Linked DNA regions of Homo sapiens: regions 2, 3 and 4 are each linked to region 1. Evidence: promoter capture Hi-C in 16 types of primary human blood cells and fetal thymus (Javierre and others, 2016). All regions are on one chromosome and are shown on one strand. The core of a region is centred on a gene start or on the middle of the fragment in contact, and the rest is flanking DNA. Distances in the headings are between cores, read along the strand shown. Region 1 holds the start of NSMCE2 (NSE2 SUMO ligase component of SMC5/6 complex). Region 2 holds the start of CYRIB (CYFIP related Rac1 interactor B). Region 3 overlaps CYRIB (CYFIP related Rac1 interactor B). Region 4 overlaps CYRIB (CYFIP related Rac1 interactor B).

Region 1 (6,646 bases), core at 1,794-4,293:
CAGCCTGGGCAACAGAGCGAGACCCTCTTTTCTCAAAAAAAAGAGAAAAGAAAAGAAAAGGAAGAGACGCCAGGGACTGCTCTCTCTCTCTCTCCCTACCATGTGAAGACACATAAAAAGGGCAGCCATCTACAAGCCAAGAAGAAAGTCCTCACCAGAATCCAACTATGCTGGCAACCTCACCTTGAACTTCTGGCCTCCAGAACTGTAAGAAATAAATTTCTGTTGTTTAAGCCACCCAGTCTATGGTATTTTGTTATGGTAGCTTGAACAAAGACACAGTATCTATGAAGATTAATGCAATCCAGTATAAATGGAAAGTATCTACCAAACAGTAGCTGTCACTATTTGTTTGAATGCAAAACTCACATTACTTTAGTGAAACTTCACTTTTGCAGAGGACCAAGGAAAACACGATCATGCTCTTCTGTAATTCTGGAGTAGGGAAAAGATTAAGACTGAGATTGAATTGAAAAGCAAAGGCAATGGATGGTGCAGAAAGATGGAACAGACATACTTTTCTCAATCTCTCCCAATAAATACAGCTAAGTACAAGTCAAAGACAACTCCTTTCTCTGACTCTAACAGCACCTTCTTTGATATAATTATAATTATAGTCACTCCACTTTGTTAGTGACTATCTTGCAAGATGTTAGCAGTGCTTCACAAACAGCAAGTGCTCTGAAAATAGTCAATAAATGAATAAATTAACTGTCTGCTTCAGTCAGATTCATAGCTCTCCTGTTTCCTTCTCCCCTTCATACCCAATATTCTTAATCTCAGCTCCAGACTTTGTTCAGGCTGGGTGTGGTGGCTCATGCCTATAATCCCAGCACTTTGAAAGGGCAAGGCAGGAAGATTGCTTGAGGCCAGGAGTTTAAGACCAGCCTGGGCAACACAGCAAGACCCCAACTCTACAAAAAAAAAAAAAATTTAAACTTACACAGACATAGTGGCTTGCACCTATTGTCCTAGACCCTCGGAAGGCTGAGGTGGGAGGACTCCTTGGGTCCAGGAGTCCAAGGCTGCAGTGAGCTATGATCATGCTACTGCATTCTAGCCTGGACGATAAGAGTGAGACGCTGTCACCAAAAAGGAAAAAGAGGACTTTTCCTCATCCTGCTCCCACCATGAGAAAACCTTCTCTTCAGTTTTCTTTCTATTTATTTATTTATTTTTTGAGACAGAGTTTCGCTCTGTCGCCCAAACTGGAGTGCAGTGGCATGATCTCGGCTCACCTCAACCTCTGCTTCCTGGGTTCAAGGGATTCTCCTGCCTCAGCCTCCCGAGTAGCTGGGATTACAGGTGTGTGCCAGGACACACCAATTATGTTATTTATTTACTTATTTATTTATTTATTTATTTATTGTATTTTTAGTAGAGAGAGGGTTTCGCTATGTTGACCAGGCTGGTCTCAAACACCCGACCTCAAGTGATCCGCCCGCCTTGGCCTCCCAAAGTGCTGGGATTACAGGCATAAGCCACTGTGCCAGGGCCTCTCTTCAGTTTTCTATCTGCCCACATCTTACCCATATGCTAAAGTCTGAATGTTTGTGTCACCCAAAATGTATATGTTGAAATCCTAACTTCCAAGGTGATGGTATTAGGAGGTGGGGCCTCTTGGGAGGTGATGAGGCCCACTTTCATGAATAAGATTAGTGCCCTTTTAAAAGATGCTCCAGATAGCTGCTTTGCCATTCCACCATGTGAGGACACAGCAAGAAGCCACCTATGAACCAGGAAACAGGCCCCGGAACTGTGAGAAATAAATTTCTGTTGTTCATAAGCTACCTAGTTTATGGCATTTCCGTTACAGAAGCCCACATTGACTAAGATACCATCTTTCATGGCTTGGTTTAAGTGGTTCTCAACCAAGAAGGATTTTACCCCTCTCGCAAGGGGACATTTAGCAGTATCTGTAGACTTTGTGGTTGGCATCTAGCGGGCAGAGGCCAGGGATGCTCTTAAGCATCCTACAAAACACAGGACAGCCCTCACCCTGACCCCACAGCAAAAAATTATCTGGCCTAAAATGTCAATAGTGCATCAGTTGAGAATAACTGGTTTAAATCAATCTCTCTTGGATCCCTCCCCAGGTAATAACACTGATCTTTTTCTTCCCGGTACCTATGATCTCCAAGAAAGTTTAGAACAAGTTGTGCATTTCCTGAGTTTTTTCTCTGCATGTTATTTATAGACAATATGTTGACTTCCTTTAAATCCATGGGAGCCTTGTACAAGTCAGCCAGAGCTGCCTCTCCTTTTTCAACATGCAAGGATAATCCCTTCTCTCTGAATCCTTCTCATACAATTGCTTTTCCCTCCCTCATGCTACCATTATCCCTATCACATGCACATGTACACAACACACTCCTATTATGAAACTCATCACAACTATTTGCTCACATGTCTGCAGCTTCTTTAAACTGACACCTCCTTAAACTAGAACCCTGACATATTCTATTGCATATAAAGCAATTCCTCACACAAAATAGGGGACCAATAAAGATTTGGCCAGTTACAAAAATAACAACAGACATCATCATTTCTCGGTCACCTACAGAATGCCATAAACTGGTGTCCCGGCACTTTATTCTCCTTATCGCTAATTCTCACTGCAATCTACATAACTGAAGAGGAAATTGAGGTCCAGAGAGTTTATTCAAACGACCTTCCCGTGGCCTTACTTTTAAAGTCAGTTCAAACAAAATCTATTTGGATCAAAAATTCGTAATCTTGCCCCTACACACTTGAGGCGAAAGGATGGAGAGATGGCGTCTCGGACAGGAGGGTAAACTGTCCCAGACTCACTACCGTGGCGTGAAAAGTTCCACAACCATAATCCGGGTAGACGGACCCCCGGCTCGGAGTCCCCGTGGAGTGTCCCTGAGGGTGGCGAAACTCCTGCCACCCTCCCCATTGCCGTCCCCCGCTTCTTCCCTACCTGGTAGTCCAAGCTGTCTCCGTCTGGTGGCACCCCAATTTCCCCTGCCTAGACCCACCTCCTTTCCTCAGCCCCCTTCGCCTGCCGCTGAAAAGTGAGAGCGGGCTCTTGCGTCATCAGCCGTCGCCGGCGAGTGGTCACATGATGCCCCTCCCTGCTCCCAGCCGCTTCGGTCATGTGACCGCCTGGGGAGTCAGGGGCGGAAGTCGGGGTCTGACCCGCTCCAGGTCCGGGACTGCGGATAGAAGAGGACCGCCGCCTTGAGGGAGGGGTGGAAACTGGGTGCCGGCTCCGCGCGCGACCTCCGGCCCTGCGCGTGCGCCGTGGCGCGGCCCGGCTGACAGGTGAGTGGGGATGGAGTGAGCGCGCCCCATTTTTGCATGGCCCCCTTCCCCTCCCCGCTGGGCCGCGCTGGCCACGGGGAGGTCTGCAGAGTCGCGTGCAGCCTGGATGGGGGACTCGGGATGGAGGGCTTAGGGGCTTTCTGGGGCGGGGGCTGTAATCCAGCTCTTCGTCTCCGCTTAGGGGGAAATCATTTTGCACACCCCTTCCTCGCTTTAGGAAGCACCGTTCAGCTGCTTGGTCCGAATCTCATCCTTCCAAGTTTCCGGGAACACTGCTGTATGGATGTCGTCGTTATTTCTCTTTGCTTTTGAGAAAACTGAAAGGCTAGTAGTGAGGACTTTTACAGGCTGACAGACGTGGATTTGCATTCTAGTTATGCCATGGGCTGTGAGTTTGGGCAAGTCATTGCTGCTCGCCGCGCCTTAATGCCTTCACCTGTGACATACTGATGTCAAAATCCTTTGCATTTGGGGGAAAAAAAAAAAGTTCCCAGGGCCCTGATTCCTGGGATCGGAATCAGGATTATGATCGGACAGGAGAAAGAAAAAAAGTCACAGAGCCATAAAACTGGGTCTCCTGATTGCAAGCGCATGGAGCTCCCTCAAACATAGGTGAGGCGTAGTGAGGGCGAAGTTTTACTGTCTTTGTGCACTACAAGGGACACCTTCTCTAATTGTCCTTCACCTGCCTTTCCCAGGATTTCAGGTTCAGCCTCATTTCAGAACTTTTCTGGAAAATATATGCAGCTTGCATTTATCTTGATCAGCAACCGTTATATTTTGTTTGTGATAATGGATTTGTGGAGACCAGTGCTTCCTTTATGGAACTGAGGTTTTGCGAAAGGCTAAAAATAGACCTGCCTTCTTTTGTCCTCTGAAGAGGGTAAACTGTTTGTCCACGACAATTCGATTTCCTTAAGAAATATTATTCTGTACTCAGGGTAATTGGTGTAAGGATGTCATGCCTTATTCTTGAAAGCATGTCTTTTGATTAGGATTACTTCCCAAACTGAAAATCACAGTTCCACGCCAAATTATTAAAAATGAAGTTACCGGCACTTGTAAAAGAAAATAAGAAAATATAGTGGGATCTCTGGATTTCATGCCAATAATAATATAGCCTGTATTGAGAAAACTGATCTTCAAGTGTTCTTGATCCCTAGCACCAAGAGAACCTCTGAAAGGATAATTTAACATAGCTTCTTCTACAGTGTTTATTTGGACCTAATTCTAAAGTGGTTTTTTAAGACTTAGCTGAGTCTTAACACTTTGTAAAGCCATCCACCTACCTCTTAGCTGCAACTTGATTAGGCATTTTTAATGATGGTTCTTAGATTCTGTTCTTCAGGACTAGTCCTTCAGCCAACGAGGGGGCTATTTACCAAATACTCTAGCCAAATTATATTTGTACAAATTATGGAAATTCCATTTGTTACATGGAAAATATAACTAGTCCGGGTTAGGAGGTCTAGTACATAAAATGTAACTAAGTGATTTCCTTCTTTCAGCTAATCTTGTTTTAACTTCTTCCATCTTCAAAAACTTAGCAGGAGATGCTTGCATTATTAGAAATAGAAAACACAAGTGCCCTTCATGGGGCAAAACAGATTACAAGCAGTGAGTTCATTTCAGTAAAAGTATATTAAATATAACTCATATGCTTTTGCATTAAAAATTTAATATAAAGTTTATATATAGAATTTTAGAAAGGTGATTTACCTAGGTAATAAAGACCCATAATATTTGTTTTACTATTGCCGAACATATTTGGTTATTATTATCCTCCTCATGTTCTTTTAAAGTTGTCTACAGCGTAATTCTTGAGTAAGGGACTAAGGATTAAAACAAGAGATTGACACACGAAAGTCTTGATCTCTGTCGTTATCCCAGACTGAAGCTTCCCCGAATGTGTGCATGCAGGTGCTGAGTCTGTCTGTCCTTCTGTATGTTGGGAGAGAGTAGAGTAAAGGGCAAGTAATGTTACTTTGCTTTAAGTTGTTTTTCCCAGGGCCACATTGTTGCCCTGTCATGGTATCCCAAATCGGGTAGCCATTGGACCTGTTAATCATAGCTTGTCCTCCTCTTCATGAGTCTAGAGCAAGCTTGTGTAGCCTGAGGCCTGCAGGCCACATGCGGCCCAGAATGGCTTTGAATGTGCCCCAATACAAATTTGTAAACTTGCTTAAAACATTATGAGATTTTTTTGCGATTTTTTTTAAGGTCATCAGCTATTTTTGGTGTTAGTGTATTTTATGTGTGGCTCAAGACAATTCTTCTTCCAATATTGCCCAGGGAAGCCAAAAGATTGGACACTCCTGGTGTAAAGTTTCATCCTACTTAGACCTTCTGGGTTAGTTTGGTGGTCTTCAGAGGGCTTTAGTATGTGACTGTTTTGCCCACTGTCCATTATTTCCCCTTTCCCTCTCTGCTTTCCCAAGCCAGACCATATCCATGCAGAAAATGAAATGAAATTATCTGAAATTCAGCCTGTTAGAGATCAGTGTGGTTTAACAAGCAAGTATCACAGAGGAAACTAAAAGAACTTGTTAATAATGTATGCCTTAATGTGTATTACAGGGTACCTTCATGGGAGTTCTAGACAGCTGTAGTGGCTTCTTGGCTCTCAGATCCAATCCAGTCTACTTCTTCTGTTTCCGCCCCTAGCTGACTCTGCTCCAGCCACTTTAGCCACCTTGCTAGCCATCTAGCACATTCCTGCCCTGGGGCCTTTGCACTTACTTGTAACCTCTGCTTGGGATGCCATTATTAGGATCATTATCTATTGCTGCATAATAAACTATGCCAGAACCCAGTGGCTTAAGACAATAAGCTTTATAGCATCTATGGTCCGGAGGGTAGGGCATAGCTGGCTGCCTTTGGCTCTGGGGCTTTTAGAACATTGCAGTCAGGCTGGGAACAAGGAGCTATGGTCTTATCTGAAGGCTGGACTGGGATTATAAGGGATCTACTTTCAAGTTCACTCAGGTGGTTTTTGGCAAGCCTCAGTTCCTTGTCATATGGGCTTCTCCCCAGGGCTCTCTCACACCATGATATGTTGCTTCCCCTGGACTAGCAAGCTACAGAGGGTGCCCAAGCCAGAAGTTAGTCTTTTCGAAATCTAATCTCAGAAGTGCACTGTATCTTTTGTTTCTATCCTATTTCCTTCCCCCCCTCCCCCTTTTTTTTTTTTGAGATGAAGTCTCACTCTGTCACCCAGGCTGGAGTGCAGTGGTGCAATCTCGGTTCACTGCAACCTCCGCCTCCTGGGTTTAAGCAATTCTCCTGCCTCAGCCTCCCGAGTAGCTGGGATTACAGGTTTTTGCCACCATGCCTGGCTAATTTTTGTATTTTTAGTAGA
Region 2 (6,646 bases), core at 2,487-4,986, 4.9 Mb before region 1:
GGGAAGTCATTCCACCTCACTGAGTGGGATTCCCAGCCTAAAGGGGCTAGCTGAGCCTCTGAAGCATCTTCCGAGGGCTGTGCTCCAGTGCCAGGACGGCATTCCTTAGTGAGCTTGGGCGTAGTTTTCCCTTTCGGTTCCCAATGGCCAGAGGTGTGAGGAGACTGAAAAGCAGGTGTGAGGAGACTAATGCCGCTGAGTTTGCTTTTATCACGATGGGATGTGGAGTGGGCTTAATTGCAAAATACTAACAGCAGGACAAAAACTGAGTCTCTGTGTCTCCCAACTTTACCTTCTGTTACCTTTTGTACATAATAGCACTCTTGCAAATGCTCAGCAGGGAAATGCATTTTGGAGGAATATTTTTGAGGGACTTTTGCATATATGAAGGAAATAGCTATTTTTTTTTTTTTGCTTGAAAGCTGTGTGGACCACATGTGCTATGAAAGCACAGCCTTCTTTTTTAATTTTTAATTTTTAAAATCTTGGTTTTTCAAGATTCTTTGCTTGGCCAATGAAAGCACCAGATTCTAATGTTGAAAGTAAAATGTGCATGCTGCTTTCCAGTTATAAAGCATGAAAAACTCATTTTCTTACATAGTCCTCTCAACAACAGAAGATAATGTTATTATTCCCACTTTACAGATAAGAACATTCAAGAAGTCAGAGGTTAAATGACTTGCCCAGAATTGCACAGCTGAAAATGGCAGGCAGGCTTTCCCAACTCCAAAGACAGTGCTGTCTATAGGATGCTGGACTTCTGCCTACCATTGTCAGGGTTGACATCCCGGGGAAACAGAGCAGTCACTACAGAATTGCCAGAGGTTTCCCCGGGTATTATTCCCAGGTTCCCAATGGCTTGAATTGGTCAAACCTATCAGGATCAGAGTGAGCCTAGGCTCATGCTCTCAGCCTCACTGTATCCAGTGAATGGAGACTTTCTCCTCTGAGACACACACATCAGAGTTAGACTCTCCATCCCACATATTTCAGAATTCAGTAGAGTGCAGGCTAGCAGGCATCCAAGCCCTGCCCTCACCTTCATCTATTCTTCCCTGCTTCCTGGACCCCCAAATTTGCATTCCATGTTACGCTCACATCAAACTATTTACAGATCCCAAGCTTGCCTGAAAGTTCCTTACCTCATGCCTTTAACAATTATTATGGTAGGCCAGGCGCAGTGGCTTGAGCCTGTAATCCTAGCACTTTGGGAGGCTGAGGCGGGTGGAACGCTTGAGTTCAGGAGTTTGAGACCAGCCTGGGCAACATGGCAAAATCTTGTCATCACAGAACAATACAAAAATTAGGCTGGGTGCGGTTTTTGGGAGGCTGAGGTGGGCGGACCGCCTGAGGTTGGGAGTTCGAGACCAGCCTGGCCAACATGGTGAAACTCCACCTCTACTAAAAATACAAAAATGAGCCAGGCGTGGTGGTGCACATCTGTAATCCCAGCTACTTGGGAGGCTGAGGCATGAGAATTGCTTGAACCCGGGAGGCAGAGATTGCAGTGAGCCAAAATTGCGCCACCGCATTCCAGCCTGGGTGACAAAGTGAGACCCTGCCTCAAAAAAAAAAAAAAAAAAAAAGGTAAATTGTAACAGTTATGATAATAGTAACAACAATGGTGATTGCTTTCTCCTGGGTCCTATCCATATTAGGTTCTATATATTCGCTATTTCATTTAACCCTCACCATAACCTAACGAAGTCATTATTATCCATTCCATTTCACAGATGAACAAACTGAGGCTGAGAGTGGCTAAGTGCTTGGGCTCTGGAGTCAGACAATCTAGGTACATACCCAGCTCCACCGCTGTCTAATCTGTGTGATCTTGGGCAAATCTCATCTCTCTTCCAGCTGCAGTATCTTAATGCATGACACTGGGCCATGATAAACCTGCTTCATGGGCCTGCACACACTTGGCACCTGCTTAGTACTTTATAAATGTTCAGAATTGTTAATGCTCATTTTATAAGCGGCTCAGCTCTGCCTGCTTCCAAACCCTTTTCCTGCTTCTCCTCAAGGTCATAGTTCAGGACCCAGTGTTTCCCCACCTACTTCTCAGCCCCCACAGCAAGGTGGACATTAGTTCCCTTCCTTTAGGAATGAAGGCACTGGCGCTCGGGTAAGCTTAGAGAGCAGTCCAGGGAGTACTGCTGAAATGGCACCATCTCAGGGTCCCCAGCTCCGAGAACTGGGCCTGGCCAAGAGAAGGCGCAAGGCACCTTTGTTAAAGAATTGGCGGGCTGGGTGTGGTGGTTTATGCCTGTAATCCCCACACTTTGGGAGGCGGAGGCAGGGAGGATCCCTTGAGCCCAGGAGAAACAGGCCAGCCAGGGCAACACAGGGAGACCCACCTCTACAAAAATCTATAAAAATTAGCTGAGCATGGTGGTGCATACCCGTGGTCCCAGCAACTCGGGAGGCTGAGGTGGGAGGATCGCTTGAGCCCAGGAATTTGAGGCTGCAGTGAGCTATCGCATCACTGCGCTACCTAGCCTGGGAAACAGAGCAAAATCCTGTCTTAGACAAAAAAAAAAAAAAGAAAGAAAAAAGAAAAGAAATGGAACAACTGGCTCCTAATCAGGTAACTCAGCACTGAGTATGATGTGAGCACACTCCAACCCCCCTATAGCTGGAGGTGGAGGTGGAAAGACAATGGAAGCCTTTGATGTAACCCTTTTGATACCCTGCTAGAGGACAGCAGAAAGATACTTGAGAGAATGTTGTCTATCTTCCCGAGAAATTTCTGGTTGAATGTCAAGATAATGATAGGATGGGCTTCTGGGCCAGGGGAGCAAGGCAGAGGGAAGGAGAGTATCAGTTTCCTAGGCATGTCCTGTTACAGGGAGAAAAACACAGTATTTTCCATTCTAGATCAGGGGAAAGATGAGGTCTCCCATAATACCTGAAACTGGAATTATGGCGAGGAGCTTTTTATGTGGGAATTTCTGTACTAAATTTAAAGTCCTTGGAGAACCGCTTAGGGTAGCACCGACAGCCCGCACCGTCCCCTCACCCCGCTTTATTTTTCCTCTGGCACAGCACTTAGCACCATAGGACCCATCAGATATTTACGGCCTGTCCCCGCTGCCCCTCCCGGGCAGGGATTTTGTTTTGGTTCGCAGCTGCAGCTCCAGGGCCTAGAACAGCCCGGGCACTTAGTAGGCCCAGTAAGTATCTGCGGGAGGGCTGAATGGGTGCGTGGACAGCATTCCTCTCACTGACCCCGCTGCGAGGTGAGCCAGGCAGGGGCTGTCACCATTCCTGAAGTCCAGGTGAGGGGGAAGCGACCCAGGGATGGGAACCTGGCCGGCCTGAAGGTCTGGAGACCGGGGTTCGAGCCCAAGCCCTGCCTGACAGGCAGTGACCTTGGGGGTCACTCTTGCGCCTCTCGGAGCCGGGTTTCCTCCTCGCACAATGAGGGCGATGACCCCCAATCGCAGCGCGCCCCGCGGTGACTTGCCCAAGGTCACCACCGTCCCGGGCCCGTGGCGCCCCGGCTCGGGAGGACACGGGCCAGGCGGGCGCGGGGTTCTGGGGTGGGGGCCGGCGCGGGGCGGTCCCGGGGCGCGGCGCGCGCTGACGCCGGGGCCCCGCGATGCGGCGGGGACTGGGCGCGGGGGGAGGCGCGTCGCGAGGCGAGCGTCCTCCTTTTGTGCGAGCGCCGGCGGCTCGGCTTCTCGAAGGTAAACAGCGCTTCCTCTTCCTCCTCGCCGCGCCTCTTCCTTTTATAGTTATTTCTCGCCTGGCACTCGCCCGGGCTGCTGCTGCTGCTGCTGCTGCCGCCGCGGCGGGGGCAGCTCGCAAACCTGTGGCGGTGACGTGAGCCCCGCCAACCCGGAAACGGCGGCGGCGGCGGCACCGGAGGCTCCGAGGCTCCTGCGCTCCCGCGCCGCGCTCCCCTCGCCCGCCCGGGCCGCCAGGTACGTGCCGGGGCTCTGAAGGCGCCGCCGCCCGGCCGGCCCGCGCGCGCGCCCCTGGATCCGATTTGCCCCCGGAGAGGGCGCGGGGTGCGGGGCGCGCGCGTGATGGGTGCGGGGAGAGGCGGAGGTACCATCCGGGCCGCCGGGCCGGGCGCTGCGGCGGGTGGACAGGGGGCGCCGCCGTGGTGGGGGCGTCCGGGCCGGCGGGCGCGGGGGTCCCGGGGGAGGCGCCTCGAGTGCGCGGGGGGCGGCGGGCGGACGCGAGGGGAGCGCGCAGCGGGGCCGCCGCCCGGGTCCACCCAGCTGCGGAGCCGGCGCCTTGTGCGCCTCGAGGCAGGGGGCGCTCGGGTCGGGGTGGCTGGTCCCTGGCAGACCCTTCCTGCGAGCCGGGTGTCGGTGCGGGGACTGACCCCGGGAGCAGCGCTGGCCCCCGGCCACCTCCCATCAGGGGCTTGGAAGACCAGTCGCATTGGATTTGAGGAACTAGAGGGGGTGAACAAAATCTCCACTGGCCTCAAGACTTCCTCCTGGGGTAGCCACCCGCCTGTGTTTAAAGAGCACTTCCTCTTCGCCTTTTATCTTTTCATTATCTTTCTTTTTAAATGGAAGTTCAGTGTTAGCGGGTGGGTGCCCTTGCAGCCTGCAGGGCTTTCCTGGGGCTGTGTACACACACACTGGGGTTGGGAAAAACCTGTGTGTCCTTTGAAACGTGTGTCCTGTGTCAGGAGTGGAACGAAGGAGGAATCGAGGTCTTACCATGCTGGAGCTACTTGGAGTGTGCCTTTGCTACCCACCCTGCTGCAAGAGGTGGAGGGGTGCGGAGGGATAGAGCTGGGGCTGCGGGGGAGTGTCACATGCACTTTGCAGCTATGTTTAATTCCTGGCCCTGCCGCTTACTAGCTGTGTGACCTTGGGCAAGTCGCTTACCCTCTCTGAGTCTTAGGGTCCCGTCTGTGAAATGGGCTGCTGCGAGTGGGGCCTTGAGAAAACGAGCGTAGATTTCCTGGCCTGCAGGGGGCGCAGTGATAGAAAGTGTCATTGCCAGTCACCTTGAATTTCTGCATCCCCAGCACCTAGAAAGGGTGCGTTGAAGCACGTGGGAAGCACCCCATAGATAATTGTGAGATGAACGAGTGGGTGGTGAATTTTGAGAGGTGAGTCGGTGTGCTTCCACATTTTGGCTTCCTTGCCCTGTAACATCCATCCAGGATCTCCAGGGAGCAATTTTGCTATCTGGGTTGGATGGACTCCTCCCCTCTCTGAGGAAGACCATCTTGTGAAAATACTGACTCCCTTGTGAAAAAGGGCTTAAACTCTGACTTTGAGACTCTCCCATTCTTGGAAGATTGCACTGGGGGAAAAATAAAAAGAAGGCGTCATTTTGATTGCCACCGCCAGGTGACTGGCTGAGGCCAACAGCCAAGACTGAGCCAGGGCTGACGTCTGGGATGGTTTCCCAGGCCTGGGGTTCCTGTAATGTGGGGGAAGCCCGGAAGAGGTGACTTTTCTACCTTGGTCGGCATGCAGAAGTGGTCAGCTGGCCTGAGTTTTCTTCCTGAGGAGGCACATTGGAATTTGCACTCTAGATCCTTGCTGGGCTCACAGCACGGAGAAGGGCAGAGTGTGTGATGCAGGAGGCTGAAGTGGGTTCCAGCACAGGGAGACTTGGAAATGGTTTTCAGATAAAGGCCAATATATGTTTCTGCCCTTCACTTTGGGAGATTTTCAAGTAATTTTGCTGTCTCTGACAGCCACCCCTTCTCCTTTCTCAGCTCCCAAAGTCTTCTGTGTGCCTCTCTTAGGATCCTTAGCTATGTGGGTCCCCCAACTCCCGACCCCCGTAAGTGCTACTATTATTTTTAAGAGACAGTGCAGACCCTTCTGTGCAGCAGCGTGCTGCAGTTTGAGCATGTGCAGATTCATTTTGTTTGTGTTTTGACAGGGTCTCACGCATTGCTGAGGTTGAAGTAGTGCAGAAGTAGCGTGATCATGTCTTACTGCAACCTTGACCTCTCAGGCTCAAGCCATCCTCCTACCTCAGCCTCCCAAGTAGCTGGGACCACGGGTGTGCACCACCATGCCCAACTAATTTTTTAATGTTTTGTAGAGATGGGGTCTCTCCATGTTGCCCGAACTCCTGGGCTCAAGGGATCCTCGCTGCCTTAGCCTCCCAAAGTGCTGGGATTACAGGTGTGAGCCACTGTGCCCGGCCCAGATTCATTTTTAATGACTGAACTGTGGAGTGGCCAGGGTTACCTGTAAAGGAGAGCTAGGGTTCTCGTTTTCCTGAGACTTAGAGAGAGTGCAGGACTTGGCCCAAGACCTTCAGTCAGGAAGGGGCAGATTGAGGGTCCTTGCCTAAGTCTTCAGCCTGCAGAGCTCACTTTTCTTCTTGCAGACGCTGAGTGGTCTTTGTGCTTCCTCTGGCACCTGACCTGCTGCCTGGCCCATGCAGGAAACAGTACGTGTCTTTTGACAGAATGGGCAGAAGAATGATGGGTTCCCCTTTGCTCTTTGAGGATGTACATTCTTTTTCCATCTCAAGGTCAGCGCACTGGCCTGCAGTTGACCTTGAAATGGTTGTCCCGTGGTTCCTCCCTATGTGGAATCCTGGTCCCTGACAGCTCTTATATCAGGATCCAGAGACCCATGCACACGAAGAACAGGAAGGACGCCCGAGGGACGCGGGTGCCAGGAGGTTGTGGCCTCACCCGTGCTCA
Region 3 (6,646 bases), core at 2,303-4,802, 4.9 Mb before region 1:
TATCTCTGCAAATGTCACATTTTCAAGTAAATAGTGACATACCTTTAAAAGTGATACATCCTTACACTGGGGAAGTATTTGATAATCAGTTCTCCATTGCTTCAGAAACATCATTTTTATCTTGCTCATCTATTAGTGAGCTCCTGTCCATGTCTCCACTTAAAAAAGGGTGGGGCTGGAGCCAGGCACAGTGGCTCACACCTGTAATCACAGCGCTTCGGGCGGCTGAGGTTGGCAGATCTTTTGAGTCCAGGAGTTCAATACCAGCCTGGCCGACATGGCGAAACCCCATCTTTACCAACCAACCAACCAACAAACAAAAATTAGCAAGGCGTGGTGGCATGTGCCTGTAGTTCCAGCCATTCTGAAGGCTGAGGTGGGAGGATGGCCTGAGCCCAGGAGGTGGAGGTTGCAGTGAGCCGAGATTGCACCACTGCACTCCAGCCTGAGCGACAGAGCCAGACCTTGTCTTGAAAAAAAAGGTGGGGAATGGGGGGCTAACTCTGTCTCTCAGTTTAACTGAGATGGTATTGGGATCTGGCTTTTCAGTACACCATAGTTCGTTTCCTTCCTCCTCTGTCTTCTTCCCATCTTCATATTATGTTGTTTTGTTGTTTGTCTTGTGAGTGTGTGTGTTTTTTTTTTTGAGATAGTGTCTCACTCTGTTACACAGGCTGGAGTGCAGTGATGCCACCTCTGCTCACTGCAGCCTCCACCCCTCAGGCTGAAGCGATCCTCCCACCTCAGCCTCCCGAGTAGCTGGAACCACAGGTGTGCACCACCACGACCAGCTAATTTTTTTGTATTTTTGGTGGAGATGGGATTTCACTATGTTGCCCAGCCTCGTCTTGACCTCCTGAGCTCAACCGATTCTTTTGCCTTGGCCTCCCAAAGTGCTGGGGTTACAGGCGTGAGCCACTGTGCCTGACCTCATAGTATGGTTTTTTTTTTCTTTTTCTTTTTCTTGAGACAGAGTCTCACTCCGTGGCCCAGGCTGGAGTGCAGTGGCACAATCTTGGCTCACTGCAACCTCCGCCTCCCAGGTTCAAGTGATTCTCCTGCCTCAGCCTCCCGAGTACCTGGGATTACAGGCGTGAGCCACCACGCCCAGCGCATATTGTTTATTAAATCAATGGTGTGCTGAACTGGACTTCTTGAAAAACAAGACTGCGTATTAAAATACACAGTAATAATTAATGTTATTGGTTTAAACAGATGATTGGCCTAAAGCATCAAAAAACTTCTTTTGAACATTTATCAACATGTTAAGCACCACGCTATGTAGTTGTCCTCCCCCACCGCAAAAATCAGATTTCTGGAAGGCAGATTTGTCACTTGGACATAGAGCTGCAAGTACTACAGCTTTTTTTCTTTTTTCTTTTCTTTTTTTTTTTTTTTTTTTGAGATGGAGTCTTGCTCTGTTGCCCGGGCTGGAGTGCAGTGGTGCAATCTTGGCTCACTGCAACCTCCTTCTCTGGCCCATTAAAAACAATTTTAACTATGTAAGCAATAGATCATGATACTGTGGAAAAATGAAGATGTGTGTCTTAAGCTGTGATCAGCCTATGCCAGGAGTGTGGTAGGCAAAATGTAGAAACTGTGTTTTTATTTTTATCATGCATCAGAATTGGTTCTGGAAGATGGTTCATGTTTAAGGGTTTATGAGTTTAAAGGGAAATGATAATTATTTTATTTTATTTTATTTTTTGAGGTGGAGTCTTGCTCTTGTCATCCAGGTTGGAGTGCAATGGCGTGATCTCGGCTCATTGCACCCTCCGCCTCCTGGCTTCAAGCAATTCTTCTGCCTCAGCCTCCCAAATAGCTGGGATTATAGGTGCCTGCCACCATGCCAGGCCAATTTTTTTTTTGTATTATTAGTAGAGACTGGGTTTCACCATGTTGGCCAGGCTGGTTTCAAACTCCTGACTTCAGGTGATCTGCTTGCCATGGCCTCCCGAAGTGCTGGGATTACAGGCTTGAGCCACCATGGCCAGCTGGGAAATGATAATTAATAGACCCTCCTGCTGTTTATCATCTTTGAAAGAGAACGACCCAGTATTATAGCAATATCTCCCCAGATCTTGGGCCCGAGTTCTGGGCAAAAGGTGCACTGTGGGCGCTGTTCTCACTTATCCTTCCAGAGGAAGTTTCCAGCTAATAGTGGTTCAACCTAAAAGGTTATAGTCTCGGAGAAGACAGTTTGTGAATAAAAGAACCTCTAATAGGCTTTATTCCTTCATATGTTAGCATAGAAAAATGTTATGCTACTATTGACAGAAAATCCAAGCCAGAGAATGTTTGTAAACTTGTAGTGGACCCAAGAATCAGTTATGTTATTTCCAAGGCACCCCAAAATGTGTATGGGATTTGCATCTTGGTGGTAAACATGCACTGAAAACCAGAAGTACTTTGTGTTTTCCTGGTATTAGGGTTGTAAAACATTGATATATTATTTATTTAATTAATTAATTAATTTATTTATTTATTTTGAGACAGAGTCTTGCTCTGTCACCTAGGCTGGAGTGCAGTGTCACGATCTCCGCTCACTTCAGCCTCTGCCTCCCAGGTTCAAGTGATTCTGTTGCCTCAGCCTCCTGAGTAGCTGGGATTACAGGCACACACCACTACGCCCAGCTAATTTTTTTGGTATTTTTAGTACGAGATGGAGGTTTCACTATGTTGGCCAGGCTGGTCCCGAATTCCTGGCCTCAAGTGATCTGCCCGCCTTGGCCTCCCAAAGTGCTGGGATTACAGACGTGAGCCACCGCACCCGGCCAACATTGATATATTTTTAAAAAGGTGTGTGTGTTCGTGTGCATGCACGTGTGTGTGTGTGTACACGCACTTAGCTGGTTAGCACTAGTTATGAATAGGAAATTAAACACCTGGGAATGTGTTTCAAAGGACACCCCCCAACCCCAGTGTATTAGCATCTTTTCTGAACTGCATACTTGGGAAATAATAATAATAACACACATTGATGGAGTGGTAGAGAACCTGGCTAATATAAAAGGACATGTTCTGAATGGATTGAGGGATACTTTAGAAAACTCTAGCACAGGGGAGGATTCCTCCAAATGTATTCATTTTTGAGGTGCATCTTTTGTTCTGTATCATCCTGGCACATGCCTGGGGAGATGGTGCCCACAGCGCGAGGCTTGAGTCTCCAGGGATTCTCTCTAAATCTGTTACGGTGGAGGTTTCAGACATTGCAGTTTTTCCTACAAGTTCAAATCAACCAAGACAAATTGGAATCACTTGTGTGAAGCCTGCCCCACAACCATCTCACAATAGTCATTTAGTGCTTGGCTGATCGAATATTAAATGAAAACATAAGAAAGAGAAGTTTTATTATTCAGGTAATCTGATTAGCTATATAACACACTATAGACAATTCAATTAAGAGGATCGAAACTACAATTAGACTGGGCACGGTGGCCCACTGTGGCTTTGGGAAGCCTAGATGGGAGGATTGTTAAGGCCAGGAGTGCAAGATTGACCTGGGCACATAGCAAGACCTCGTCTCTACATGAAATAAAAAAAAAATTAGGCATGGTGGCACACGCCTGTACAACTGAGTAGTACCCCAGCTACTCGGGAGCTTAAGGCAGGAGGATCTGTTGAGCCCCGGAGTTCGAGGCCACAGTGAGATATGGTGGTGCCACTGCACTCCAGCCTAGGTGACAGAGCAAGATTCTATTAAAAATAAATAAATCAATAAAATTAATACTTCTACTACTGCTAATACAAGATGTCCACCCTCAAGGTGCTTATGATCTCATTGAAAGAGTGAGGACAGGACGGGAGCAGTGGCTCACGCCTGTAATCCCAGCACTTTGGGAGGCCAAGGCGGGCAGATCACGAGGTCAGGAGATCGAGACCATCCTGGCTAACACGGTGAAACCCCATCTCTACTAAAAATACAAAAAAATTAGCCGGGCGTGGTGGCGGGCGCCTGTAGTCCCGGCTACTTGGGAGGCTGAGGCAGGAGAATGGCGTGAACCTGGGAGGTGGAGTTTGCAGTGAGCCGAGATCGCTCCACTGCACTCCAGCCTGGGTGACAGAGCGAGACCCCGTCTCAAAAAAAAAAAGAGTGAGGACAAATATTAGGTGATAATACCAAATAGTATAGGATGGGAATTGGCCCATGTGTGATCATTTTGTACCTTATTATTGACATTTACATACAGAGACGTGCACATCATTATTATTTTTGGCTGGGTGTCGAGTCCAGTTTATTTAAAACATGACATGGCAGACTTTGGGAGCTGGATGGCCTTAGGAACTGAAGCATAGCAGAGTTCATGTGTGAGCCATACAGAGGTCTACTGTGAACGAGTGTGAATCTTGAGCTGAACATGGCCCAGCTTCCCACATACCTGTTAGATGCCTTCTCTGTCTGGCACAACACAAGAAAAGATGACTGGGGAAGTTTGTGCCAGCAAGGCAAGACATTTGGAAATGGCCTTCATGAAACCTCTTTGTTCTGGCTGGGCACGGTGGCTCACGCCTGTAATCCTAGCACTTTGGGAGGCCGAGGTGGGTGGATCACTTGAGGTCAGGTGTTCCAGACCAGCCTGGCCAACATGGTGAAACCCCGTCTCCACTAAAAATAGAAAAATTAGTTGGGCGTGGTGGCACATGCCTGTAATCCCAGCTACTTGGGAGGCTGAGGCAGGAGGATCACTTGAACCCAGGAGGCGGAGGTTACAGTAAGCAGAGATTGCGCCATTGCACTCCAGCCTGGGCAACAGAGCCAGACTCTTTGTCTCAATTAAAAAAAAACCCCAAAAAACAAAAAAAAACAACAACACATAAACACACACACAAAAACTCTTTCTTCTGATTCAGAAATTCTATTTCTTTTTTTCAAACAAATGTTTGGCTTCTCAGAACTGAGGGGTAATGTAAACATTAAGAATCACCTTCCAAATTCACGCTCAGAGAGGCAGCCGTAGGGAGAAATTGGAAGGAAAAACCGCTTATAACTAATTGCAGTATTAGCCTCTCCAGGTAACTATGGGAAGAGCTGAGCAAGGCCTCCTTGAATGGGAGATAAGTTCACCTGTGTAATGACTGCATTTAGTTTTTTCCCAGGAAATTATAAAAAAGAATTGGTTTGCTTAAAGGTCTGTTTTCTTAAGTTTGTTAAACATTGCCGTAATAATTTTTTACATTGTTGCTAACTGGTCCTAATAATGTGAAATAAATTTCAGTCTAGTTTAGAAAAACGGTCATGAATTCTGAATTAAAGTAATTCTGAATATCCATTATTATTATAAATAGCAGATGTTTATTGCATATTTGCTATAAGCCACTGTACTGGGGGAAAGTTTTATTAAATAAAGCAATAAAGCGTTGTTAGAAATATTACAGAGCTCTTGTAATTGAACAGGATTATAGGCATAAGTTTATAATTTTATTAACAGGGATAGAATGAATCATGGTAAAGAAAAAAAAACAAGTGATAAACAAGCCAATAAAATAACAAGATGAATCCACTGAGGGGAAGGAGTAATTATTTAAATTTTTTTTTTGTTTAATTAACATTTATTGTCTTCTGGGTAACAGGCACTGTTAGGGACTTTTACATCTGCTATTTTATTTAATTACAAGAGTTCTTCATTTCCAGATAAGATTTCCCATGGGCTTCCTTTGACTAATGAGTTATCTTAGCCTGGTGCTTGTCAGTCCCAGCTGCACATGAAAATCACCTGGGGAGCTTTGGAGCAATATGGTGCTGGGGTGCTTCCCCAGAGAGTCTGTTTAATTATGCAGAGTGGGGACCCGGCTGCAGTATTTTTAAACTCTGGACAAACCAGAGATGTCATTTCACTTGCAGGAAAAATACAGCAATAAGCAACTGCTGCAAACTTCTGCAGTAGAGCATGCTATGCCAAGTAGAATAAGCAAAACACCTGTTTTCCTTCGTCTGTTTCCTATTAAGTGGGATGTGGAAAGTGTCAGAATAATTATGGAATGAAGCAGGCTAGAAAATGTTGCTTTAAAAGTCTCAAACCCAGAATTTCCAGGTGCTCTTAACTTGTAGCCTGGGTTTTGCTCCGTGGCGTTTATCAGAAACATGGTGCCAGTGACTTGCATAATAAAAGTTTTTGTCTTTTTTATTTTTTAAGAAAAAAGGAAACTATTTAACAATCTTTTATACTAAAGGTAATGTGTTTTAATGAAATACATACATATGTCCAGAGTACAGAACTGTGGATAAAACAGTTTAGGAGGACACAGAATTGTAAGGAATTCTTTCTTTTGGTGGAGGGATTATGGGTAGAAATGTCTTCCTTAAAAATCATCTGTTTCGGGCACAGTGGCTCACGCCTGTAATCCCAGCACTTTGGGAGGCCGAGGCGGGAGGATCGCTTGAGGTTACGAGTTCGAGACCAGCCTGGGCAATATGGTGACACCCTGTCTCTACAAGAAATAAAAAAAATTAGGTCAGGCGCAGTGGCTCACGCCTGTAATCCCAGCACTTTGGGAGGCTGAGGTGGGCGGATTCTGAGGTCAGGCGTTCGAGACCAGCCTGGCCAGTATGGTGAAACCCTGTTTCTACTAGAAACACAAAAATTAGCTGGGCGTGCTGGCAGGTGCCTGTAGTCCCAAGCTACTCGGGAGCCTGAGGCAGAAGAAT
Region 4 (6,646 bases), core at 2,620-5,119, 4.9 Mb before region 1:
AGCCTTTAGTGGCCTTCTTCTAACCAGATTTCCCCTAAGTCTGTCCACATTGGTGTCATCTTTGGGTGCTGATTTACTCTGGGCCAGGCAAACTTTACCTGGACTTGGGGAAAGGTATGAAGTAGAAGAAAATAGAACATGAGAAAGGTCTGAGGATAAAATGCAGAGGCTTAGGCCATGCACAGTGGCTCATGCCTGTAATCTCAGCATTTAGGGAGGCTGTGGTGGGAGGATTGCTTGAGCCCAGGAGTTTGAGGTCAGTCCTAGCAACACAGCAAGACCCTGTGTCTACACACACAAAAAGAAAATAGAAAAGAAAAGAACAAAAATCAGCCAGGCACAGTCGTGTGTGTCTGTAGTCCCAGCTACTTGGGAGTCTGAGGTGGGAGGATCACTGGAGCCCTGGAGGTCAAGGCTGCAGTGAACCATGGTCATGCTACTGCACTCCAGCCTGGGTGACAGAGCAAGAGCCAAGAAAGAAAGAAAGAAAGAGAGGCTGGGGGGAGGGAGGGAGGGAGGAGGGAGGAAGGAAGGAAGGAAAAATAGGCTTAAATGTCAAGTAAAGACTGAAAAAGAAAAAAGAATAGGCTTAACTGTCAGGTAAAGACCAGAAAAACAGGGCTTCTGGGCTCATTGTGACCCTGCAGGGGTGATCAATTGGTTTTCATTAGGGATGAGATTCAGGGGCTCTGTTACCACAGCATAACCCAGCTCACCCTAAGTGATATAACCACTACTGTCATACAGGGAGCATGATTCATGGAACTTGGGAGCAGGTGTGTGTGTGTGTGTGTGTGTGCAAACACAAAGACATGTATGTGTATATATGAATCTTGCTGCCTCTTGAGGCTGGTTTCCAAACTTGTCTACACTTTGGAATCACCTGGCAATCTTTTAAAATCCCAAGCCTAAGGTCATACACTAGATGAATTACTTCATAGACTCTAGGGGTGGGACACAAGCATTAGTTTTTTTAAGCTCTCCAGATGATTCTAATGTTCAGGACAAGTTAAGTTCAGGAATCACTGCTCTGTGAGAATTATAATATCATTATTATTATTATTTGAGAAGGGGTGGGGATAATGGAAGTGACAATGGTAGTAGCCATCATTATTATTTACTGGCTGCTACCTATATGCCAGGCAGCATTCTCGATGTTTTACAAAGATAATCACTTCTGATTCTCACTGCGCTCCACGAGACAGTTTTGTAGGTGGTTGGAGAAGGAAAGGAGAGGGTCATATCTTTCAAACTTATGTAAGCCACAGAGTTGGCTAACCAGATTGTCAGGTGAAAATGAGAAAGATGGGGCTGCTGGGCTTACCTTCTTGACCCCAGAGGGACCATTGTGGTCATCCTTAGGGCTGAGATTTAGGTGTTCTTTGTTACCACAGCATAACCTATCCCATCCCGATGGATGCAACCATCCTTTTAATAACCACAGTGGATTCAGGCATTGGTGCTTAGAAGCACATTTTGCAACATTATAAATTGAGGGTGAGTTTATTTTGGCTTGTGGCTTGGAAGGAGAAAAGAGTGCAGTAAACCAGGCTATTAATCTTGGGTTTGTTGGTTCATCCATCAACACCGCTTTGTATGTGTCTCAAGGAATCAGATTTAATAAATTAATAAAATGCTATCTTGTGTTTTTGTAGCACTTTTCTCAATGGAATACACAGTGCTATGCAAACCTCTTACTGTTGTTGGTCTTTTTGATACACCGTAGAACGCTTGTAAGAGGTAAATAGGGCTGTTACCATAAGGTAAAATGAGGAAATAAGTTACCTTGAAATGCTTATCTAATATCTCTATAGATTTCCGACGTCTGTAGAGATTTCTGATGGGAGCCTCGATGTGTAGGTAGGAGTTTGGTGCGGAAACGTGGGAGTGTTGTGGAAGGTGTTCCTAGCAGAGGTGGAACAGCAAGAAACAGTATTTACATGAACTCTGTAAGCAGCTTAGTGTTGTGACCGAGAAAGATACCATTCCTTGCTATTATGGGTGACTGGAAAATCTCAGAAAGCCTGCATTTCCACTTATTTCTTCATCATGCAGCACATACTTTTTTTTTTTTTTTTTTTTGAGACGGAGTTTTGTTCTGTCACCCAGGCTGGAGTGCAGTGGCACGATCTTGGCTCACTGCAACCTCCGCCTCCTGGGTTCAAGTGATTCTCCTGCCTCAGCCTCCCAAGTAGCTGGGACTACAAGTGTGCACCATCACGCCCAGCTAATTTTGTGTTTTTAGTAGAGACGGGACTTCACCATGTTGGCCAGGCTAGTTTCAAACTCCTAAACTCAAGTGATCCGCCTGCCTCAGCTTCTCAGAGTGCTGGGATTACAGGTGTCAGCCACCGCGTCCGGCCACAGCACATACATCTTCTAACATTTTGCAATGGTGGAAGAGATTTGTGTGTTGTGTGTAGTAAGGGCCAAATAAGGACAGCAATTAATTTACCTACTTTTACCCTGAAAGATCACACCAGATACCATACCAAATGTTGCACACTGCTTATTAGTATAGATATTTCACAGGACTTTACTGATGCCTCAGTGATGTAGACTAACCTTTGGAAATAAAGACAGTATAGACATAAATCCCTCTAATCTTCCCCCTGGGTCCAGAGTTCATGACTGGGGGATCGTGCCCCTAGACAAGTTCCTTAACCACTTGGGCCCTGCATTTTCATAAGCAAAAATATTAGATTGAAGGTGAATTCCAAAGTTTTTCCCATTTCTAAAATTAGTTCATTTCATCCAGAAACTCTGATGCAGGCACTTATAAGTACAAGCAGCCTATTAAATTAAAAAACTAGGCCAGGCGCAGTGGCTCAAGCACGTAATCCCAGCACTTTGGGAGACTGAAGTGGGTGGATCACCTGAGATCAGGAGTTCGAGACCAGCCTGGCCAACATGGTGAAACCCCATCTCTACTAAAAATACAAAAATCAGCCGGGCATTGTGGCCAGCACCTGTAATCCCAGCTATTCGGGAGGCTGAGGCAGGAGAATCGCTTGAACCTGGGAAGCGGAAGTTGCAGTGAGCTAAGATGATACCATTGCACTCCAGCCTGGGGGACACAGCGAGAGTCTGTGTCAAAAAAAAAATTAAAAATTAAAAAGCTAAGTAAATACTGAAATGGACTATAGACATTTTCTCCAAGTCTGTGGGTTGAGATAAGACCAGAGCTTGGGCAAGGTAACATTCTCCCCTTTGCCCTCTTCTGTGTATTACAACTTGGGGAGAGGGATACGTTCTCATTAAACCTGTGTTCTAACATGAAATCGGCACCAGGATTTTAGAAGGGAAGCTTGCTAAACCAGTTACACTTCTTAACTGGTCCATTTTTTTTAAGGTTTATGCAATATCTTTCCTTTTGTAGCCTCAAAAAGTGACTGTGAGAACCTAAGCTCTTTCGGACTTTTAGTTTATGTTTGACTTTTTCCTGTCATTCTGTCTAAATCTCTGTATTTCAAATACTAGGTTACACAGTAGTGACCTGATCATTTAGGCTAATTTTGGGCGAGGGTTCAATCTTACCTCCTTGTCTTGCTTATCTGATTCCCTGGTTCCAGCTCTGTGGCCATGCTGGGGATTCACAGTAGCGTTAAAACCTAGGCCTGTGCTGATTCAGGCTGGACCAATGCCATCTCCTTGACCAGCTGCAGCTGTTTGTTGAGTGCCCGCCTTGTGCCAGGCTCCGTGCTCTCACTGGGGATACAGTGGTGACAAAATAGTGTGGCCGCTACCGTCCTGGAGCTCACAGTGTTTAAGGAACCACACAATAACCATACAATTGCAGTGATGGTGTGTGCTGTAAACAAGAAGCACAGAGGTTGAGAGCACGTGCACAGGGGATCTGACCTGGTTTGCTCAAAATGGCAAATGCATGGCTGTGATGAGGAACCCAGGCCAATACCTGGGGGCTCTAGGCATTAAGAGCAGCAAGTGATCTCAAGTACAAGTTGGGACCAGGTGAAGGGGTCAAGAGTCCGCTCACGAACAGCACTAGGGTCCCTGTTATTGGATAAAGTGCAGGACAAGTCCTTCCCTGGACATCTCCCTGCCACCCTCCCCTGACCTTCCCAAGCTGGAAGGAACTCTTCTAGCCCTTTAATTTTACAGGATATATCATCCGTGTCATTTATTTGGCAGTTGTGCGTTGCTTTGTATTGGAGTAAGTAGTGTGCCTTTCATCCCCTAGAAGACAAGTCTGTTTCCTACACTCTATGTCCCCCAAGTAGGTGACCCTAGATGAAATGCTTGATGGATCAGTTGGCTAATGAAAATGCCTGTGGCATTCAGTTAGTCTTAGAATGTGGGCCTCTTTCTTCTTGCCTCCAAAGCAGCTGATCAACAGAAGGTTCGGAATGAAGAACAGTAACACGTAACAGTTCCAAGTGTTCCTTTGTGCTAAAATTTACCAAAGCTTCTGTGGATTGAGGCAGTTAATGGGGGGAAATTCTATCAACCTAGGAGTAGTTTAATAGATATTAGCTTGGAATTAAAAGTTCAAGGTAAATTGTCTTTCCTTTATCTACTCACTTTTCTTTCTGCCTGTGTGATTCTATTTCCATTAATAGAGTAACTACCAGCCATGAGCCTTCTGTTTGCTTTGGCCCCTCCTATCTTTCCTTATTTTCTCCATCAGGTTCTCTCCCTTGGCCACTTCTGCTTCCTCTTCTCTTCCATATTTCTCCTGTTCACACTCTTCCTTTTTAAAATGCCATCTTTTTGGACAAACAAAATGGTTCAAAACGTTAAAGAAAAATGAAAAAGAATATTATTTCACTTCCACATTCATCTTGTTATCATTGAGTTTTACCTTCTCTGATCCTCTCTACCATTTCTCCATAGGGGTACATATTTTATATTAATTGTATATACAATTTTGCATTCTATTATATATAACTTTATTACGTATTTATTGTATACATACATATACATGTAATATACATAATTATAAATGTAATTTTTGGCCGGGTGTGGTGGCTCATGCCTGTAATCCCAGCACTTTGGGAGGCTGAGGTGGGCAGATCACCTGAGGTCGGGAGTTCGAGACCAGCCTGACCAACATGGAGAAACCCCATCTCTACTAAACCCCATCTCTACTAAAAATACAAAATTAGCTGGGCATGGTGGCACATGCCTGTAATTCCAGCTACCAGGGAGGCTGAGGCAGGAGAATCGCTTGAACCTGGGAGGTGGAGGTTGCGGTAAGCCGAGATTGCACCATTGCACTTCAGCCTGGGCAACAAGAGCGAAGCTCTGTCTCAAAAAAAATAAACAAAAACAAAAGGTAATTTTTGCATTTTATGATATATGTAGTTTTGTACTTTGTTCTTTTAACTTAATATTCACATTTTTAAATTCAATGAATGCTAACTGAGCTCCTACTATATGCCAGACATTGTTCTAGGGGCTGGGGACACATTCGTGGACAGACCAGCCATAAATGCCTACTGTCATGGGCTTAGGTCTAGTTCATGGAGAAAGACAATAAACATAATACAAACGATGTTAGGAGGTGACAAATGTTATGGAAACAAAGAGTAGGGTGAAAGAAGATTGGGAATATTAATTTATAAAATAGTTTCTTGTGTTTCTACCATTTTCTTTCTTTTTTTTTTTTGAGATGGAGTCTCGCTCTGTTACCCAGGCTGGAGTGCAGTGGCACAATCTTGGCTCACTGCAACCTCTGCCTCCCGTGTTCAAGCAATTCTCCTGCCTCAGCCTCCTAAGTAGCTGGGATTACAGGCACGTGCCACCACGGCCAGCTAATTTTTTGTATTTTTAGTAGAAACGGGGTTTCACCATGCTGTCCAGGCTGGTCTCGAACTCCTGACCTCATGATCTGCCCGCCTCGGCCTCCCAAAGTGTTAGGATTATAGGCATGAGCCACCGCAACTGGCCGTTTCTACCATTTTCTTATGTCCTCAGTTGTATGTTGTCCTTGAGGTTGATGGATTTTAATGTATTGAGAACCTTAGGACTATATAACTTTATTATTATTTTTTTGCTTTGTTTTTCTTTTGAGATGGAGTCTCGCTCTGTCACCCAGACTGGAGCGCAATGGCACAGTCTCGGCTCACTGCAACTTCTGTCTCCCAGGCTCAAGTGATTCTCCCGCCCCAGCCTCCCGAGTAACTGGGACTACAGGCTCCCGCCACCACACCTGGCTAATTTTTGTATTTTTAGTAGAGATGGGGTCTCGCCATGTTGGCCAGGCTGGTCTCAAGTTCCTGACTTGAGTGATCTGCCTGCCTTGGCCTCCTAAAGTGCTGGGATTATAGGCGTGAGCCACCCTGTCTGGCCAGGACTATGTAACTTTAAATCATGAGAAGACATGGGAGTCATTGAGAGCAAACCCTTCATTTCTGAGGTGAGGAAACAGGTCCAGAGAAAATAAATGACTTGCTCAAAATCGTACTGCCCCCAAGTAGCAAAGCAGGGGCTTACATTGTAATTAAAGTGATTTTCATTAATTCTAAAGATGGTTCTTTCAGAATCCTACTATGCCCTTTCCCTATAGTGGGAAATTTAATTTGTGTCTGGCTTTTATTATAAATAATGCTGCAGTGGGCAGCTTTATACCAACAGCATCTTAATGAAAGCAAGTCTGTTAATAAAAACAATAATAATAAGTAAT

What was found. Contacts are between HindIII fragments. The CHiCAGO score rates a contact against its expected background, and 5 or more counts as called.
Region 2: the fragment with the promoter of CYRIB here is called in contact with the fragment with the promoter of NSMCE2 in region 1 in 1 of 17 cell types (total B cells); the score reaches 5.5 in total B cells.
Region 3: a fragment that was not itself captured here is called in contact with the fragment with the promoter of NSMCE2 in region 1 in 1 of 17 cell types (neutrophils); the score reaches 5.1 in neutrophils.
Region 4: a contact is called between a fragment that was not itself captured here and the fragment with the promoter of NSMCE2 in region 1, in 1 of 17 cell types (neutrophils). The highest score is 5.6, in neutrophils.

The regions. Positions count from the first base shown.
Region 1 is chr8:125,088,257-125,094,902 of GRCh38, reverse strand. It overlaps NSMCE2 (NSE2 SUMO ligase component of SMC5/6 complex), which reads right to left and starts at 3,043. Exons shown (of 8, transcript NM_173685.4): 1 at 2,945-3,043. WASHC5 (WASH complex subunit 5) reads left to right here and starts at 3,111. Exons shown (of 29, transcript NM_014846.4): 1 at 3,111-3,288. RefSeq lists an enhancer at 2,952-3,171 and a silencer at 3,222-3,391. The HindIII fragment of the contact is 6,790 bases long and covers 1-5,187 here.
Region 2 is chr8:130,013,650-130,020,295 of GRCh38, reverse strand. CYRIB (CYFIP related Rac1 interactor B) reads left to right here and starts at 3,736. Exons shown (of 14, transcript NM_001353258.2): 1 at 3,736-3,926. RefSeq lists silencers at 3,524-3,583, 3,634-3,703, 3,794-3,983, 4,174-4,443. The HindIII fragment of the contact is 5,812 bases long and covers 2,133-6,646 here.
Region 3 is chr8:129,974,984-129,981,629 of GRCh38, reverse strand. The region is part of intron 1 of CYRIB (CYFIP related Rac1 interactor B); the gene reads left to right. Among named protein-coding and RNA genes, the nearest start is that of MIR5194, 30 kb to the left of the region's middle. The HindIII fragment of the contact is 7,355 bases long and covers 1-6,646 here.
Region 4 is chr8:129,950,689-129,957,334 of GRCh38, reverse strand. All of the region lies in intron 2 of CYRIB (CYFIP related Rac1 interactor B), which reads left to right. Among named protein-coding and RNA genes, the nearest start is that of MIR5194, 54 kb to the left of the region's middle. The HindIII fragment of the contact is 1,119 bases long and covers 3,310-4,428 here.